Regions from separate parts of the Homo sapiens genome. Here region 1 is linked to region 2. Evidence: promoter capture Hi-C in 16 types of primary human blood cells and fetal thymus (Javierre and others, 2016). All regions are on one chromosome and are shown on one strand. The core of a region is centred on a gene start or on the middle of the fragment in contact, and the rest is flanking DNA. Distances in the headings are between cores, read along the strand shown. Region 1 holds the start of PSMB6 (proteasome 20S subunit beta 6). Region 2 holds the start of ANKFY1 (ankyrin repeat and FYVE domain containing 1).

The links. Contacts are between HindIII fragments. The CHiCAGO score rates a contact against its expected background, and 5 or more counts as called.
Region 1: a contact is called between the fragment with the promoter of PSMB6 here and the fragment with the promoter of ANKFY1 in region 2, in 2 of 17 cell types (fetal thymus and erythroblasts). The highest score is 7.3, in fetal thymus.

Annotation. Positions count from the first base shown.
Region 1 is chr17:4,792,303-4,797,418 of GRCh38, reverse strand. PSMB6 (proteasome 20S subunit beta 6) reads right to left here and starts at 1,255. Exons shown (of 6, transcript NM_002798.3): 1 at 1,123-1,255; 2 at 624-691. The coding sequence starts at 1,224. RefSeq lists enhancers at 942-1,471, 898-1,496. The HindIII fragment of the contact is 8,413 bases long and covers 1-4,859 here.
Region 2 is chr17:4,260,678-4,265,843 of GRCh38, reverse strand. ANKFY1 (ankyrin repeat and FYVE domain containing 1) reads left to right here and starts at 1,865. Exons shown (of 25, transcript NM_001330063.2): 1 at 1,865-1,912. The coding sequence starts at 1,903. RefSeq lists an enhancer at 1,679-1,768 and a silencer at 2,419-2,568. The HindIII fragment of the contact is 3,100 bases long and covers 1,595-4,694 here.

The DNA of each region.
Region 1 (5,116 bases), core at 6-2,505, 530 kb before region 2:
TGAGGAAAGGAGCCCACCTGTCTTCCACCTCCATCCCATCACTACCCACTCTCTTAGGGCTCAGGGATAGGATGTCCAGTATTGCCTTTTTTTCCTTTTTCTTTGAGATGGAGTCTCGCTCTGTTGCCCAGGCTGGAGTACAGTGACGCGATCTCTGCTCACTGCAACATCCACCTCCTGGGTCCAAGCGATTCTCTAGCCCTAGCCTCCCAAGTAGCTGGGACTGCAGGCACGCACCGCCACGCACGGCTAATTTTTGTATTTTTTAGTAGAGACGGGGTTTCGCCATGTTGGCCAGGCTGGTCTCGAACTCCTGACCTCAGGTGATCCACCCGCCTCGGCCTCCCAAAGTACTGGGATTACAGGCGTGAGCCACCGTGCCTGGCCTCCAGTATTGCTTATTCTCATCCAAACTGAAGCGGGCTGGAGAACAGACTTTTGTAAGGATTCCACTAACGAGTGAGGGGAACTGAAAGTAACAAAAGTTGGGACAAATCTTTATCTCCAGAGAGAGAAGAAACCTCTCTTCCCACAGTGGTCTGTGGAGGCAGGCAGGGTGGGCTGGCAGGCAGGAAAGGAAAAGGAAGATGGGAAGACCTTTCACAAATCTGTCCTGAGCTCACCCAGTGGTTGTTCTGGAGTCCGCCCCCAGAACCACGCCCCCGTCAAACTGCACGGCCATGATAGTGGTCTGGGAAAAGGGAAAAAGGAGTAAGTCTACATTCTCCAGCAGACACAAACCTCAATGATCTCTCTACCTAGTTCCAAAAATACAAAATCTGTCCGTCGCTGAACCATTTTCAAATCTTATAGGGGCCTCAGCACCCCGCAGAATACCAGAATGCCAACCCTCAAATCTCAAAAGACTCATCCCGTACTTAAGCCCAAGATCCTCACTAGCCTCGCAGGATTTCAGAATTTCAAACTTCAGCCCACCCTCCACCTCCCACTACGAAGCTACCGCACCACTCCACCATCTTCGGGGTACCTCTCCCCATTCCTGGAGCACAACACATTCCACCTCCTCTCCACCCCTGCCAGATCTCTCAACCCCACTCAGGCTTTATCTTCCCATCGCGTCAGGCCTTGTGCACGTCCTATGAACCCCGATTCCTTCCTCACCCCAGTGGAAACTTCTCGGCTTTCCCAGTCTGGAGTGAACGCCTCCGGCCCCCAAGCCGGTGCTGGCCCGGCTCCCCGAGCAGCTAGTAAGGTAGCCGCCATCTTTCTCCTCCGGTACTGCCTCAAAGCAACTGTCGTAAAGCGCTCTGTCACGCTCTTTGGTCGCGCTTTGAGGCCTTCTGGGAGCGAAGCTACTCCGAGGTTGACGGCAGAAGGGAAAAGAAAAGTACAGTACTGCATGGGGACGGTTCTTTTGCGACAGTGAGCACTTGATGGCAGCGTGGCAAGCAACAAACAAAACAAGAAAGTCAGCAAAACCCCCCCCCCAAAAAACCAAAAAAAACCCAAAAACCGTTCGGCACTTTGGGAGGCTGAGGCGGGCGGATCATGAGGTTAGGAGTTCAAGACCAGCCTGGCCAACATGGTGAAACTCCTTCTCTACTAAAAAATACAAAAATTAGCCGGGCGTGGTGGGGCGCGCCTGTAATCCCGGCTACTGGGGAGGCTGAGGCAGGAGAATCGCTTGAGCCTGGGAGGCGGAGGTTACAGTGAGCCGAGATCACGCCACTGCACTCCAGCCTGAGCGACAGAGCAAGACTGTCTCAAAACAAAAGCAAAAACAAAACAAAACAAAAAACAGTCCTAGTGGCTTGCGCCGTACCGATCTTATGGAGTTACAGTCCAAAGGGCCCACAAAATAAACCTGAGAGTCTTTGGGCTAAAGTGACCACACCATGTTTTCATTTCTTTTAGTTATATACTTAGGAGTATATGCTGGCAGAGGAATTTATGGGTTCTATGATAACTGTATGTTTAACATTTTGAGCAACCGACAAACTGTTTTCCACAGAAACTGCACCATTTTACATCCCTACAAGCCATGTGTGAGGGTTCCAATTTCTCCACATCCTCACCAACACTTGTTATTGTGCATTTTTTTAGTTATAGCCATTCCAGTGGGTGTGAAGTGGTACCCTGTGGTTTTCATTGGTATTTTTCTAATGATTAGTGATGCTGAGCATATTTCCATGAGATAATTGGCCATTTGTATGTCTTTTTTGATGCAATGTTTTTTCAAGTTCTTTGCACATTCTAAAATTGGGATATGTCTTTTGTTTAATATATTTTTGGGGTTTAATTTTTTTTTTTTGAGACGAGGGTGGGGTGTGTGTGTGGGGTGGGTTTGTCTTGCGGTGTTTCCCAGGCTGGAGTGCAGATGGGATCATGGTGCACTATATCAGCCTCGAACTCCTGGGCTCCAGTGATCCTCCCGCCTCAGCTTCTCAAGTAGCTGGGACTACAGGTGTGTGCCACTGAACCCAGCTCTATTTGTCTTTTTTTTTTTTTTTTTTTTTTTTTGAGACGGAGTCTCGCTCTGTCGCCCAGGCGGGACTGCGGACTGCAGTGGCGCAATCTCGGCTCACTGCAAGCTCCGCTTCCCGGGTTCACGCCATTCTCCTGCCTCAGCCTCCCGAGTAGCTGGGACTACAGGCGCCCGCCACCGCGCCCGGCTAATTTTTTTTGTATTTTTAGTAGAGACGGGGTTTCACCTTGTTAGCCAGGATGGTCTCGATCTCCTGACCTCATGATCCACCCGCCTCGGCCTCCCAAAGTGCTGGGATTACAGGCGTGAGCCACCGCGCCCGGCCTCTATTTGTCTTTTTATACTGGTGTGATCTCGGCTCACTGCAGCTTCCGCCTCCCGGGTTCCAGCAATTCTCTTGCCCCAGCCTCCCAAGTAGCTGGGATTACAGGCATGCGCCACCATGCCCGGCTAATTTTTGTATTTTTATTAAAGAGATGGGGTTTCGCCATGTTGGCCAGGCCGGTCTCGAACTCCTAACCTCAGGTGATCCTCCCGCCTCGGCCTCCGAAAGTGCTAGGATTACAGGCATGAGCCACTGTGCCTGGCTCTATTTGTCTTTTTATTGTTGAGTTGTAAGGGTCCTTTTTAATATTCTAGGTACTAGAAACATCAGATACATGATTTGAAAATATTTTCTCCCATTGGATTGTCTTTTCATGTCCTTCATTGGTGTTCTTTGAAGCATGAAAGTTTATAGTGCCAGCTCTTACATTTTTAGGTCTGTGGTCCATTTTGAGTTAATTTTTGTATGTGATGTGAAGTAGAAGTCCAAATCCATGCTTTTGCATATGGATAGTCAGTTAGTTGTTCCAGCACCATTTGTTGAAAAGACCTGCCGGGTGCAGTGGCTCACGCCTGTAATCCCAGCACTTTGGGAGGCTGAGGCAGGCGGATCACGAGGTCAGGAGACTGAGACCATCCTGGCTAACACGGTGAAACCCCTCTACTAAAAATACAAAAAAAAAATTAGCCGGGTGTAGTGGTGGGCGCCTATAGTCCCAGCTACTCGGGAGGCTGAGGCAGGAGAATGGTCTGAGACCAGGAGGCGGAGCTTGCAGTGAGCCGAGATCGGGCCGCTGCACTCCCAAGCCTGGGCAACAGAGCAAGACTCCGTCTCAAAAAAAAAAAAAAAAAAAAAAAGACTGTCTCCCCATTGAATGATCTTGGCACCCTTGTTAAAAATCATTGACCATACATGTATGGACTTACTTCTGGATTCTCAGTTTTGTTTCATTGATCTATATGTCTATCCTATGCCAGTATCATATTGTCTCTATTACTGTAGCTTTGTAGTACTTCTTTTCTTTTCTTTTCTTTTCTCCTTTTCTTTTCTTTCCTTCCTTCCTTCCTTCGTTCTTTCTTTTCTTTTCTTTCTTGACAGATCTTGCTCTGTCACCCAGGCTGGAGAACAGTGGCGTGATCTTGGCTCACTGCAACTTCCACCTCCCAGGTTCAAGCAGTTCTTTTGCCTCAGCCTCTGAAGTAGCTGCGACTACAGGCGCCTGCCACCACGCCAGGCTAATTTTTGTAATTTTAGTAGAGACGGGGTTTCACCATATTGGCCAGGCTGGTCTCAAACTCCTGACCTCGTGATCTGTCCGCCTCGGCCTCCCAAAGTGCTGGGATTACAGGCGTGAGCCACTGCGCCCGGCCCTTTAATTTCTTTTAACAGTGTTTATAATAGTTTTCAATATATAGGTCTTGCACTTCTTTGGTTAAATTTGTTCCCAAGTATTTTATTCTTTTTGATGCTGTTATAAGTGACATTGTCTTCTTAATTTCATTTTTGGATTGTTCATTGCTAGTACATAGAAATACAACTGATTTTGGTTTTGATCTTGTATTCTGCAACTTCATTGAACCATTTATTAGTTCTTTTTGTTTGTTTGTTTGTTTTGTTTTTGAGACAGTCTTACTCTGTTGCCCAGGCTGGAGTACAGTGGCGCAATCTCGGCTCACTGCAGTCTCCACCTCCCGGGCTCAAGCAGTTCTCCTGTGAGTGCCACCATGCCCAGCTAATTTTTGTATTTTTAGTAGAGATGGAGTTTCACCATGTTGGTCAGGCTGGTCTTGAACTCCTGACCTCGTGATCTGCCTGCCTCAGCCTCCCAGTGTTCGGATTACAGGCGTGAGCCACCGTGCCTGGCCATTTATTAGTTCTAAAAGTTTGTGTCTATATTCTTTAGGGTTTTTCTATATAAACCATCATATCATCTGCAAATAGAGATAATTTTATCTCTTCCTTTCCAATCTGGATGCTTTTTATTTCATTATCTTGCCCAGTTGCTCTGGCTAGTTACTTCAGCACAATGTTGAATAGATTGGCAAAAGCAGACATCTTTGTCTTGTTTCTCATTTTAGGGGAAAAGCTTAGGAGAAAGCTTAGGGAAAAGTCTTTCATCATTGAGAGTGCTGTTAGCCCTGGGTTTTTCACAGATGCCTAGGCAGGGGAAGTTCCCTTCTATTCCTAGTTTGTTGATTTTTTTTTTGTTTGTTGTTTTTTTCTTTTTTGTTTTTTGTTTTTTTGAGACAGAGTCTTGTGCTGTTGTCCAAGCTGGAGTGCAGTGGCACAATTTCGGCTCACTGCAGGCTCTGCCTCCCGGGTTCCAGTGATTCTCCTTCCAAAGT
Region 2 (5,166 bases), core at 616-3,115:
TCTGTCACCCAGGCTGCAGTGCAGCGGCAGGATAGAGCTCACTGCAGTCCCAAACTCCTGGACTCAAGCAATTCTCCAGCCTCAGCCTCAGCCTCCCAAGTAGCGACAACTAAAAGCCTGCACCACCAGGTATAGCTAATTCAGATCCTTCCTTCCAACCTTTTGTCTCTTACTCCTGGCTGTCCTCCAAGGCCACCACTTTCCCTGCAATCCTGAACTATTGATGCATTCTTTTGATTCTCCCTTGAGTAAAAGTCTTTTTTGAAAGGTCTCATGCTGGGCCGGGCATGGTGGCTCATGCTTGTAATTTCAGTACTTTGCGAGGTTGGGGTGGGAGGACTGCTTGAGACTAGGAGTTCAAGACCAACCTGGCCAACAGAGACTCCATCTCTGAAAAAAAAAAAAAACAAAAAACAAGAAAGGTCTCATGCTATTCAGCTATGTTACTGTTTAGCCCTCCATTTTGCAATTGTCTTAACTAATCGTATAGTCCTCCCCACATTCACCAAAGATTTTAGCTCCTGATGCTCCTTTCCTTTCCTACCTCTAAATCCCAACATCTAATTTTCCTGCCTTCTCACTTCCACTTCAGCCACTCTATTCCGTGGCTCTGTCCTGGACTTTTTTTTTTTTTTTTTGAGACAGAGTCTCACTCTGTTGCCCAGGCTGGAGTGCAGTGGCACAATCTTGGCTCACTGCAACCTCTGCCTCCCGGGTTCAAGCGATTCTACTGCCCCAGCCTCCCGAGTAGCTGGGATTACAGGCATGCACCACCACGCCCGGCTAATTTCTGTATTTTTAGTAGAGACGGGGTTTCACCATGTTGGCCAGGCTGGTCTTGAGCTCTAGACTTCAGGTGATTCACCCTCCTCGGCCTCCCAAAGTGCTGGGATTACAGGCGTGAGCCACCACGCCCGGCCTGTCCTGGACTTTTCTCATCTCCTAGTGCTACTTCACTATGAACCTGTTTGCCACTTTAACCACCAAGCTCTCACAACATTGCCTGCACTGCACTGGCCTTCAATTATCAGAGACCTGCAGTTTCGTGGCTCCTCCATCAGTCCCTAGCCAGTCTGTATCCCACGTTTGATGGCCTGGGCTGTCGTCTCATAGCACCCTCAATTTATTTTGGGCAATGCAATCCCAAGCCCTGGATAAATGCTATAATTCAAAATATCTGCTACTGCAGCCTGGTGGCTGAGTTCTAGAAAAAAGTGATCCATCAACACATACATGAGGCACATGAAACCAGGCCTTCCAACTTCAGCGTCCTCTTCCAAAGTTTCTTTGCTCTTCTTGGTCTCCTTCCTTGTCTCATAACTTCACCCATAAAATCGATGTCATCAAACGATCTCCCTGATTTTCTTCCCCCCTATATATCTGCACGCATGTTCTTGTTTCCTACCGTTTTAGTGGAATAACAGGTGACCTGCCTCTAGTCTAAATTTAATCCGTTTTCCTGAGTTCTGCATCGCATGCAGAGCATCCTACCTCCCCAGGGACCTCTCCACTGACTCCTTTCTCCCAGCCTCTCCTTTCTTTACAAACCTAAGGACCAACAAACCCCCTCTCTCGACCCTCTCATTGCCAAGCTTCTCCAGAGTAGTCTGCATTCGTTGTGTCATCCTTTTCGGTGCCCTGCCAAGGACGTGGAATATGACAGGGCTCAGTCAGTGCTTAATAAATCTCGAGCCTCAAAAATACCCGGTAAAAAGAAACCCGGCTCTCCGCTTCCCCCAGAGTCCAGCAACCCCCTCCGCTTTCATTCACCCACTTTCCTACCCTCGGCTCCGCCTTTTGCCGCGCCTCCCGCGATTCTCGCGAGACTTGGTGATTCCGTTCCGCACCGCCCCGGTTGAGCCGCGCACTTCTCGCGAGGTTGCAGGCAGTGCCGGGCCAGACATGGCGGAAGGTAGGGTTTTTTTGTGGAGCCGCGCGGGAAGACACGGAGCTGTGGGGGCGCTGCTGGCCGTGCGAAGCTGCCGTGGGAGGGGAAGGCCGGGCGTGGTTGCATGGGGGCTCCGCGGGTCTCGCGAGCCTTCCTGTCTAGCCTCTCCGGAGCTTCTCGGGCCGGGGTCCGGAGCGCGGTTCCTATGACAACGTCCCTCCCGCGATGCCGACCCCGCGGGACTGCGGCCGGCTGCGGAGCCGGGCTGGCAGGTCCCGCGCCGGTGCTGCGTGCAGCCGCGGGGCCCCGAGGGCAGCACGGGAGGCTCTTGATTGCCGGCGGTGCCGGGACGCCGGGGGAAGTAAGCCTTCTCCTTAGGAAATCGAAACTGCTGTCCTGGCACGTTCTGCATCCGGAAGGGGTCCATCCCTCGCTTGCGGAAGAGCGTGGGTCTCCTCGGGCTGGGTTGGGGTGAGGTGGGGTGGGGTGGGGGCGAGGCAGCAGCGAGCTGGCCCACGCTTCAGGCGGGCGCACTGGCGGCTCCGGCTCTGCTGCAACCCCAGCCTTCAGGCCAGGCGTACAGATGAAGACGGGAGGAAGGGGTTTGCGGGAAGGGAGTTGGCCAAGGTCACACTGCTCACAAGAGGGCTGCTCAAACCAGACCTCTGTGCCTTTGCCTCCCCGTCCAGTGCCTACCCTCTGGTCTCGTGCACTTTTCATGACATTGCAGCTTAAGGCACTCTGGTCTCTCAGAGTCTGCCTGTCTTAATGTAGCAGTAATTAGAAGCCTTCATTGTCAAAGCCTTATTGTACACGTAGGGGGAAAGAAGGCCCAGAGACGGGGAGTTACCTGTCAGGAATCGTGCAGGGACATTGTTGGATCTGGGCAGCCTGGTTCTCCTCTTCACCCCATTATTGGAGAACAGTATTCCTTATTTGACCTTTGTTTATTGAGTGACTGCAGTGTGCTTGGCCACGACCTTTCCTGTTGGTTTTGAGCTTTGACTGAACCCATCACTTGATGGATCTTAGATTTGGGCAGCACCTGACAGTTGGTCGGCTTTTCTCATTTGCATTAGACTTCAGATAACCTCGTGAAGGAGGCCTGGCGTGTGTATTTGCCTTTATTGATAAAGGAATTTAGGCAAAGTTACAGAGATAGCTGTGACTGACACCCAGTTGGTTTTGGGGGGTGTGTGTGTGTGTTTTGAGATAGGGTCTCGCTCTGTCCCACCGGCTGGAGTACAGTGGCGCGGTCACGGCTCACTGTAGCTTCAGTCTCCTGGGCTCAAGCGATCCTTCTGCCTCAGCCTCCTGAGTAGCTGGGACCAGGGGCGCTCGCCACCACACCCGGCTAATTAAAAAGGGGTGTGTGTGTGTGTAGACAAGGTCTTGGCCCCGTGTGGTGGCTCGCGCTAGTAATTTCAGCACTTTGGGAGGCCGAGGTGGGAGGATCGCTTGAGGCCAGGAGTTCAAGAGCAGCCTGGGCAACATGGCGAAACCTCGTATCTACAAAAAATACGAAAGTTAGCCAGGTGTGGTGGCACGTGTCTGTAATTCCAGGTACTCGGGAGGATGAGGCACAAGAATCGCTTGAACCCGGAAAACGGAGGTTACAGTGAGCTGAGATCGTGCTACTGCACTCCAGCCTGGAGTGAATGGAGTGATGGCGGGTGCCTGTGGTCCTCGCAGTAATACTAGGGAGGTGGGAGGATCATTTGAATCCGGGAGGCGGAGGTTGCAGTGAACTGCACCAGCCTGGGCGACAGAGTAAGATCCTGTCTTAAAAAAGAGAGAGACTAGGTCACACTATGTCACCCAGGCTGGTCTCCCAACTCTTGGGCTCAAGCAATCCATCCGCTTTGGCCTCTCTAAGTGCTGGGGTTGCAGGTATGAGCCATCGCGCCCGGCAGGCACCCAGTTTTTGTCTTTACTTTTTCTACCATATCCCTGGAGGGGGAAACTTTAGGTGAATATTGCCTGAAGGCAGAGGAGTAAGAAAAGGAGCAAAAACCCAAGGGATTCCCTGAAGTTGCTTTTTGAGTAAATCACGGAATGTTGTACACAGCAGACAGCTGTTGCTCACAGGAGTGAGGCGGGTAGAAAGGTTCAGGAAGGTCTTCTGTGAGGTAAGGGGTAGTCTGGCGCTTTTGCACTTAGGAAGGTAAGTTCGGTGTTTTGGGAATACATTAGCAAGGTTGAGATTGTGGAGGGCTGCTGGTTTTTCATTCAGCAGCTTTACTGAGCACCTGCTGTGCTTTGCAGTCGGGTTCCAGCCCTGAGGAGCTCATACAGGCTGAGTCAGCATACTCATCATCCGGCAAGCGCCTTGAGAGACATCTCGCCAGTGGGGTGTCTCTCCATAAACACACGAAGAAGACATCCTTTCAGGGTTAAATTAGCAGGGGGATAGCTAGGTAAGCAGTCATGAAGTTCTGACTTCACAGTCTTTCTTTCCTTCCCTTCCCCTTTCCTTTTGAGGGAGTCTCGCTCTGTTGCCCAGGCGGGAGTGCAATAGCGCAATCTTGGCTCACCACAGCCTCCACCTCCTGGGTTCAAGCGATTCTTCCACCTCAGCATCCCAAGTAGCTGGGATTACAGGCACCCGCCATCATACCCGGCTAATTTTTGTAGAGATGGGGTTTCACTGTGTTGGCTAGGCTGGTCTTGAACTCCCAACCTCAGCTGATCTGCCGGCCTCGGCCTCCCAAAGTGCTGGGATTGCCGGTGTGAGCCACCACACCCGGCCGGCCACAGTTTTTCTTTTACCTCTTTTGTGTCCCAACTTTTTGTTGGGATTTAAGCTTTTTAGAAACGATGTTGCAGACTTCAACTAGGAGGCATTCTGGGTCATTTAGCTTATTAATCTGAAGGTGCTTGCTATGCAAAGGAAGGCAAGATTAGGTAGAAAATGTTTCTTGGGATATTAATACTACTGCTTGTGCTTTAATCAGATTCTCAGAGCCTGCTATGCTTGTTTGGAGACAGTTATTTAAATATAAATAAATAGCAGATATCTGTGTCATATAACTTGAATGATCTGTAAACACACTATGGGAACTTCCCTGATAATGGTTGGTTGGCCATGTGAGAATGTGGGAGATAGTGCCTAGGAATAGTAAATAGGATCGTGAGAGACTGAGGATACAGCTTCTTATGTGACTTGTTTAGAGAACAACCTTCTTTCCTTCCATCTATCCATGGCTATTCATTTGACCATATATATTTAGCTAAAGTCTGTCCTAAAATTAGTTTTATTCCCCAACTCTACATCTCTG